2 separate regions of the Homo sapiens genome follow, and region 1 is linked to region 2. The links are contacts of gene promoters, found by promoter capture Hi-C in human tissues and cell types (Jung and others, 2019). All regions are on one chromosome and are shown on one strand. Each heading gives the region's core, a stretch centred on a gene start or on the middle of the fragment in contact. The rest is flanking DNA. Distances are from core to core; before and after follow the strand shown.

Region 1 (4,378 bases), core at 308-2,807, 89 kb before region 2:
GCAGGGGTCAGTACACTACGGCCCTCGGATCAGCTCTGGCCCTCTGCCTGTTTTTGTAAATAAAGTTTTATTGGGTGCCTAGTGCAGGGGTCAGTACACTACGGCCCTGGGATAAGCTCTGGCCCACTGCCTGTTTTTGTAAATAAAGTTTTATGGGCACAGAGCCATGCCCATGGTTTTACATATTGTCTCTGGCTACTTTCACTCTGCGATGGCAGAGCAGAGTCATTGCCGCAGAGACTGTGGCCTGCAATGCTGAAAATATTTACTCTCTGGCCCTTTACAGAAAAAGTTTGCCAAACCCTGAGCTAGTGTGTGCTGGGCCCTGTGCCAAGCCCTTTGTGTGTGCTCACTCAGTTAACCCTCCCACAGCCTTAAGGGTGGGGGCAGGGGGGTGGGGGGGAATAAGGCTCCGAGAGGTTGAGAAACAGACCCAGGGTCACACAGCTTGGAGATGGGTGAGCTGGGAATCAGACAGACCCGGGACCCCTGATATTCTTTAGGATCTTAGCTTTGTTAACCTTTGCTAATTTATCTTATTGTCTTAAATGCTAAAATGAATACACATTCATTGTAAAAAGGGAGGAATAAAGAAAAGGTGTTGACGGCCTTCTTCAGCCTGGGGTACATCCTGCCGTATCTTTCTCCACAGCTCATCCGGGGCTACTTTCCTTTAAATCTACAGCCATTCAGCAAACATCGGCAGAGGAGAACCGTTTTATAAGAAAACTAAGAAGTTTGGAAGAATCTTTCCTTCCTGCCCACCCTGGACCCCCATGAGTAGGTGTGCTGGGGCTGGTCTGCAGTGTTCTCACGGGAAACCAGGAAGCTGGGCCCAAGGCCTACATGTTGGGGAAGACAGGTCCTGCCTGTCTCCTGCTGTGGCTCCCCAGTGCTCTGAGGACAAAGCCTGAGCTCTCCCTGATTCTCCACCGTCCCTCTCACTCACTCTGGTCGTCTGGTCGCTGGGCCTTTAGTGAGTGTGCCATGGGGGCCCTGGGGCCGATTAAATTCCAGCCCCGGGGACCAGGCTCAGCTCCCAGCCAGGGCACAGACAGATCAGCACCTGCGGTTGTCTCCACCCCAACCCCCGGCCTTTGCAGGCACAGCGCCCTCCACCAGATACTCCGGCAAAGGAGGCCTGGGGACCCTGCGAGCGGGGCCGGGGGTGCAGGGAGCTGTCAGCTCCTCGCAGCGGCCTCCCCAGGACCCCCCTATCCCCTCGCTCGCCCTGAAATGTGTGTCCCTCTCGGCGTCTGGGCTCTCGAGAAAGGCCTTTGCTTGTCTGACTTCGCGAGGGTCCCGGCTCTGGCCCAGGAGCTGGGGAGGGGCGGGACTTGGTGACAGCCGGGTCCCAGCACCGCGCCCAGACCTAGGCCCTTCTCAGGGGTGCCCCGGGGCGGGGCGCGCGGGGCGGGGGGCGGCGGCGGCGCAGCCGGCAGGAGGCGCAGCGCCCGCTCGCAGCGCGGGGAGGTGGGAGGGGAGCGGGGCGGGGAGCGGGGCGGGCGGGAGGGAGAGGGGAGCGCGCCGGAGACGCGCGCGCCCAGCCCACCCCCCGCGCCCGCCGCCGCCCGGACAATAAACAGCAGCTTTGCGCGGGGCGATGCCCGAGCCGGTGCCGCCGCCCCCGCGCCGCGCAGCCCCGGCCGCCAGGCCTTAGCCCGCCCCGGCCCCCGCCAGGCCGCGTCCCCCTCCCCTCCCCTCCCCCGCGCGCCACCCGCGCCCGCCCCCGCCCGGCACCGCGGACCCACCCGGACCTCGGCGGGGAGATGGAGTGAGTAGGCGCGCTCGGGCCGCGGGGCTGGGGGCCCGGAGCTCCGGGAGCCGGGGAGGGGGGAGGCCCCCTCTCTCGCGCCCCATTGGGGGCGTCGCTGCCCCCGCGAGGAGCAGGAGGCGGCGCGGGGCTGCTGGGGCCGCAGCGCAGCCGGGAAGAGACTCGGGCTGGGCCGCGCCTGCCGGGAGGCCTCCCCGCTCCCGGACCCCGGCTGCCCACCCACCGGCGCGTGGGGACCCGGGCAGCGGCGGCTCGGGCCAGTCCAGGACGCGGGGAGGGGGAGGCTCGCGTCTCCGCCCGCGCCCCGCCCGCGTCTCCAGGGCGAGCCTCGGCTCTCGGCCACCTGTGGGTGGCCCCGGGGAGATGGAGCGACCCCTCCCCAGATTGCACCGGTCCGGCCTCGCGCTCACGCACCCTTCCCCCGCCCCAGTCTGAGCGCACGGCTCCTGGCGCCCTGGACGCGCGCGCGGGCCGGTGCCCCCCACCCCCGCCCTTCCCAAGGGCCTCCAGGGGTGTCCTGAGCCCCCCGCCACTGCGCAGGTCCCGAGTTACCGCTGGAGGGAGAGGGGCTGCCCTCGGCTTCCCGGGTCTCTGGGGTGTGTGAGAAGGGAGAGGAACCGGCGTTTTCCAGCGGGGCGCCTGGGTGGGATACCCTCTCGGGGAAGTGTCTCGGAGCTGGGGCTCCACTGGTGTAGCTACAGGAGTGGGCTGGCCCTGGGCTGGGATCCCTGGACCCCCGCATGGCTGCGCCTGTGTGTGTGGGGGGGGGGTGGCCAGTGGAGGCACCGAGCGAGGGCGCGTGGTCATTTCGGACACCGGTCCCCTCCTCCCGGTGCTCGGGTGCCCCTCTGCCCCTCACTCCCACAGGTGGGCACTGCACGGGCAGGGGTCAGGAGGCTCCTCCTGGGGTCACCCACCTGCCCACTTCAGGACAGGGGAGCCAGCTGCCCTGCTGAGGCCCGGGTCCCCACCCCAGCCCGAGGACCGAAGACCGGATCTGGAGGCCGCCTGTGGCCCCCTGCCCTTCCCACTGGGCGTGTTTTCTAAGCCGCCAACTTTCCCCGGGGATTCACCCGTGACCCGCCACGCCCGCGGCTGGGTGGGGGCCGCTGCCTCCCTCCCTCCCTGGGAAAGCGAGACACCCAGTGTCCTCTGCTTTTGAAAACCCAGACAAAGGCCTGACCCCTCTCCCCGTCACCCCGCCCCGGGAGCTCAGCCAGGGGCTCAGGGGAGCCAGGGCCCAGACTTGCCTGCTCCACACCCCCACCCCCCAGCCTTGTTTATCTGCCCTGCTCGCCAGGCCCCGGAGGAGCCTCTGGGCCTCTGACAGCCAGGCCTGGGCAGGGTGTGGCTGTGGGGAGGGGGCTGCCTAGGAGGACGACGGAGATCTCCCTCCCAGAGGAGGGGTGTCAGCGAACACTCCGGGTCGGGCCCATTGTTTCCTTCCTGCCACCCCTTCCTTTCCCACGGGGGATACTGAGGCCCAGAGAGGAGCTGCTGCCCCCCCCCCACCCCCCCTCCATCACACAGCACCTGGGGCCGGGGGGCCTCGGTGCCTCCTGCTCTGCTCCACGGTTTCTCCGTCCTGGGTCAGAGGGTGGCCCACAGGTCCCCCATTGGGTCATCATTGCTTTTGGGGATGCAGACATGGGACAGGCACCCAGTGTTAACCGGCTGCTGTGAGCCGCCATTCGAGGACGACTCTCTCCCCGGTTCCCGGGCTGACAATGGGTGGGGACAGGCCCATCTGGTGCCGCCCGGCCTTGGACACCTGCCCCCTCGTTCTTCTCCCCGGCGGGCTTCAGGCACGAAGGCCCCGTCCGCTAGAACGTGATCGCTTGCCTCCTCCCGTTTCCACAGATTTTCCAGTCGAAGACACGGGAGCTGGCTGTGGTTTGTGGTGGTGCCCGTCTCGCTGGAAAGTTTCACAAATGAATTTAAGAATTTAAAGAATTTTAAATGTCATTCAAGAACAGGTTATTTTTTGTTAATGTGAGGATTTAAGGAGAACTAGCGGGTTGCTAACCACAGGGCCGATGCTGCCAAGGTGAGGAGAACGTCCAGGAAGGAGCTGGGGAGAATCTCTGCTTCGGAGAGAATCTCTGTGCTCTGGGAGGGTTTGTGTGGCCCCTGCGTGACACATGGTCTGGCTGGTAAAATAAAGATATTTTGGCCTGGAGCAGCCATTCTCCAGCACCCACAGCCCTGTCCTGGGTACAGGCAAGGCTCAAACCCCCGGGATAGGGAGGAGAACAGACTTGGGCCTGGACAGATGGTCAAGACCGGCCCAGACTCCTCCCTGCTCGCAGACCTGGAAATTTTCAATAGGAAAGTCTCCGTTGGGTGCTAACTGGGTCCTTAACGCTCCTTCACACTTGCTAATCCCCCTTTTTAATGAGAGGCAGAGCCTGTTAAAAGGCAACAGTACCTAGTGATAATTGAATTTAATAACAAGCTTTTACTTCCGTTGTATCTGTTTCTTCCTCCATGTTTCCGCTGTCTTGTTTGTGGCGGTGGCTTCTGGTTTGCCCAGTGTTGATCACAATATAATGTTTCTTTCTAAAACAAGGCGATTTGATTTACACTGGAGTGGTTTTGAAGGCA
Region 2 (4,005 bases), core at 1,154-3,653:
ACAGGAGGCCTGGCGGGGCCACGATCAGAAGTGGGTTTTAACACGATTCCGAAGGGTTAGACTGGTGCTTGGAACCTGGTGGTCTCTACTGCTGCCAGCTGCCACTCAGACCCCCGGCCGCCCCTGCCTGTCTGCTTTCAGGGCGGGGCCCATCCCAGGCACTCCGCGAACAGACAGAAGCGGCTGGTTCTGGTGGTGTGAGGATGGGGGTCTCCAGGGGAGCAAATCCACAGTAACACACTGGGCTTCTCCCAGATCCACCGGACATTCCTGATGAGTGACCCTGGCTGCAGATGGCTCTTGGTGAGTCTCCGTTGACCGGGTGGTTCGGGCCAAAGGACCTTGCCGTGCGATGCCTCCATGGAGCTCGGCGGCCACCCCTAATCCGGGCTGGAATCCTCTGGCACCAGACGCCCGGCGGGGCTCCAAGGCTCCTGGGCCCACGCCAGGCCCCGGCCTGAAACGCAGCACTGCTGGAATAAAACACGCCAGAGAAGCAGGGCGCTAGGCTCGCCTGGATTTGGGGAAACGAGAATTGTCATGTCTTCTCCCTCCGTAGGTTGGTGTTAATGAAAAACCCCCTTTTCAGCATGGACTAAATCCCGCTAATTCTATTTAGGGAGCAGTGTCTACTCCGGGCCGGGAACTGCTCCGGTTTCCAACCGCAGCCTCCCGTGAGGGTCCCAGTGTGGAGGGCCGGGGTCATCCCCTCACTCTGGGATGGCTCCCAACCCGCTGACCTGGCCTCCCCGTCAGGCACCCTCACAGCTCTGTCAGACTCTTCATGTGATCAGCGCTCCTGGGAACATTAGTTTAGGGTGTTTTCTGCTGCTGGGATGGTGGCCCGGGAGGGACCCTCCTGGTGACCCTGCTGGGCCTGGCCCTCAGTTTCCCCAGCCGTAGGCTGGCAGCCTCGAACTGTACGAGCTCCAGGCCACAGTTTCCCCAGCTGTAGGTCAGTGGGCCAGGGACTGTAGGGGGCTCGGGCCTCAGTTTCCCCAGCTGTAGGCGGGTGGCTTGGGCCTCAGTTTCCCCACCTGTAGGCGGGCGGCCTTGGATTGTATGGAGCCCGGGCCTCAGTTTCTCCAGCTGTAGGCGGATGGCCGTGGACTGTGTGTGGCCTGGGCCTCAGTTTCCCCCGCTGTAGGCAGATGGCCGTGGACTGTGTGTGGCTTTGGCCTCAGTTTCCCCAGCTGTAGGCGGATGGCCGTGGACTGTGTGTGGCCCGGACCTCAGCTTCCCCAGCTTTAGGCGGTTGGCCGCGGACTGTGCAAAGTCCAGGCCTCAGTTTCCCCAGCTGTAAGCGGGCGGCCGCCCACTGTACAAGGTCCAGGCCTCAGTTTCCCCAGCTGTAGGTGAGAGGCCGCGGACTGTACAAGGTCCAGGCCTCAGTTTCCCCAGCTGTAGGCGGGCGGCCAAGGACTGCAAGGTCCAGGCCTCAGTTTCCCCACCTGTAGGCGGGCGGCCGCGGACTGTACAAGGTCCAGGCCTCAGTTTCCCCAGCTGTAGGTGAGAGGCCGCGGACTGTACAAGGTCCAGGCCTCAGTTTCCCCAGCTGTAGGCGGGCGGCCGCCTACTGTATAAGGTCCAGGCCTCAGTTTCCCCAGCTGTAGGCGGGCGGCCGCGGACTGTACAAGGTCCAGGCCTCAGTTTTCCCAGCTGTAGGCAGCCGGCCGCGGACTGTGCGGGGCCCGGACCTCAGTTTCCCTATCTCCGCAGTCGGGATTCGCTGTTCCGGGGCGAACAAAGAACGGTCGGGGGTGACCCCGGATCATGGCGCGCCCGCAGTATCTGTGGCCACTGTGGAAACAGCCCTGGCGTGTCCGGGACGCGACGCGGCCTTTCCCTCCCCGCGCGATCACCCAGATGTGAGCGCTCAGTTTGAATCGGACTTTTTGGCCATGTGCCCACAACCAACATGGAGCCCTGAGGGTTTCCTGCCCGACTCCAAGATGGCGATGCGACTCCCTTTGCCCTCACGGCCCAGGCGGGCGGGTCCTGCCCACTTGCAAGATGGCGGCAGCCTGGGCAAAGCACGCTTCCCGCCGCCTGACTCGCCACGTACCCACTCTCAAGATGGCGTCTCCCGCAAAGCCACGCGCCAGCTGACTGGCTCAGACGCCGTCACGTGATCCCATTTTCTCCCCCTCCCCCGACTACACAAGCCGTTTCCGCCTTCGGCCTTGAGGAATAACCGCCTCCCCCAATAGGCGCCTGCGATTTCTCTGGGTCCCGCCCCCGGGCGGCCTTCTGGCCAGTGGGAGGTGCTGGCGGGGGCCCGCGGGGCTCTCCCCGCCCCCTGGCTGCAGCGGGAGCCAATGGGCAGCGCGCGCGGGGGACGTGTGCGGGCGTCTCCGCCATTTTGTGAGTCTATAACTCGGAGCCGTTGGGTCGGTTCCTGCTATTCCGGCGCCTCCACTCCGTCCCCCGCGGGTCTGCTCTGTGTGCCATGGACGGGTGAGTCGCACGTCGCCCCGCGCCCCACCGCCCTCCCCGCGCCGCAGCCCTGCCCCCGCCGCCGCGCCGGCCTCCCCGGGGCCGATCTCGCCCCCTCTCGGGCGGGAGGGGGCGGCGGGCTCTCCCCTTCCTCTCCGCGTGGCGGGCGCGGGTGCGGGGCGGGTCAGGGGCTTCCCGGGGGTCTGGCCGCGTCCCCATCCCCCGTCCGGCCCGCTTCCGGCCCCCGCGCGCCCCGTCCCTAGCGCACGCGGCCTCCCGCGCCCCTCCCCCTCCGCGCGCGTCCCCGCACTTCGCCTTTGCCCCGCCTCGGCGGCGCGCGGCCCTTCCCGCTTCCCGTCCGGCCCTCGCGCGCCCGGATGGCCCTTCCCGCCTCCCGTCCGCTCCCCTCGTGCGCCTGCGTAGCCCGTCGCGCGTCCCCGTTGGCCCCAGCGCGCGTGCGCGGCCGCCATCGGGGGCGCGCGCCTTTCCCGCCGCCCGGACTCTGCCCCCGGCGCAGCCCCGGAAGCGCAGGCGGGGCTGGGGCGGCCGCCGGGAGGGAAAGCTGGCGCCGGGGCCTCGCCGCGGGCCCGAGTCTCTGCGCTCCCCGCCCTACCCCTGCCCCCCGTGCGCCCCGGGCCGCGGCCAAGGGGTTTCGGTGATCTCGGGAGAGAAGCGGCCGCCCCGAGGGTCTGTCCTCCGCCCCGGGGCCGGAGGGGCCTCTCCAGGGACCCCCGCGGGCGCCGTCATGGGGAGGGGCCTTCCCGGCTCTCGGGCCGGGGCAGCCTTTCCGGGCGGCTTTGCTGGGCGGGCTTCCCTTGGGAGAGGTGGGAGCCCCCTCCAGAAAGGCCGTGTCCCGCCGAGCGCTTCCTGCGCGAGGCCCTCCCTGGGAATAGGAAGCGGGAGAGGCTGGAGATGTTTCGCATTCTTTCCGTTTTCCTGAGAAGTTTTTCTTGGGTTCAGTCACTTTTAAAAGTCTGTTAAACGTGGTCCGTGCAGTCTGTGGTGTCAGAAGAGGCGCAGCCCTAGAGTGGGTCTGGACCCCTTAGCATGCGTGCGGGCAGGTGGGTCCTGCAGACGGCGAGACGAGGGCTCCCCGCTCTCGGACCCAGCACCGCGGGCTCGGGGGCCGCGCACTCGCCTCCCGGAGTGAGGCAGGAGGCCCGGAGGCTGCCCTTCCGACGGACGCTCCGAGTCACTTAGGGCCTCGCCGGGAGTTGCAGTGGCCGGGAGAAGCCGTGGGGAGCTCACTGTTGGGTCAGGACCTGGCCGGGGCTGAAGGGAGGGCCTCGGACAGTCCGGCTTTCTATCCACCTTCCCCCCGGGGTGTCCCGAGGAGGGAGAGTCGGGTCGGGCGGGGCTCGGGTTGATCAGTAACTGAGGCTGTGTTCTGGTCGGTCTGTTAATTTTTATTGACGGTTTCCACGGCCGCCTCCTGCTCTCCTCGGTGGATCGGGCTCCACTCTGCTGAGAGGCACCCTCTTGGGGGCCCACCCCTACCCGGGTGGAAGCTCTGGCCCAGGCCTGTGAGTTTGCCAGTTTCAGCCTCTCCGAGGCGTTTCCAACTTACTG

What was found. The method cuts DNA at HindIII sites, captures the fragments that hold promoters and counts their contacts. A contact is called where the count stands out against the background at its distance.
Region 1: a contact is called between the fragment with the promoter of PALM here and the fragment with the promoter of PTBP1 in region 2, in 2 of the 25 tissues and cell types used here (dorsolateral prefrontal cortex and lymphoblastoid cells).

Annotation. Positions count from the first base shown.
Region 1 is chr19:707,378-711,755 of GRCh38, forward strand. PALM (paralemmin) reads left to right here and starts at 1,558. Exons shown (of 9, transcript NM_002579.3): 1 at 1,558-1,774. The coding sequence starts at 1,770. RefSeq lists an enhancer at 555-1,115 and a silencer at 568-804. The HindIII fragment of the contact is 30,523 bases long and covers 1-4,378 here.
Region 2 is chr19:795,049-799,053 of GRCh38, forward strand. It overlaps PTBP1 (polypyrimidine tract binding protein 1), which reads left to right and starts at 2,404. Exons shown (of 15, transcript NM_002819.5): 1 at 2,404-2,457. The coding sequence starts at 2,450. RefSeq lists enhancers at 1,523-2,158, 1,811-2,150, 2,357-3,242, 3,243-4,005 and silencers at 2,063-2,417, 2,181-2,530, 2,541-2,720, 2,791-3,100. The HindIII fragment of the contact is 37,831 bases long and covers 1-4,005 here.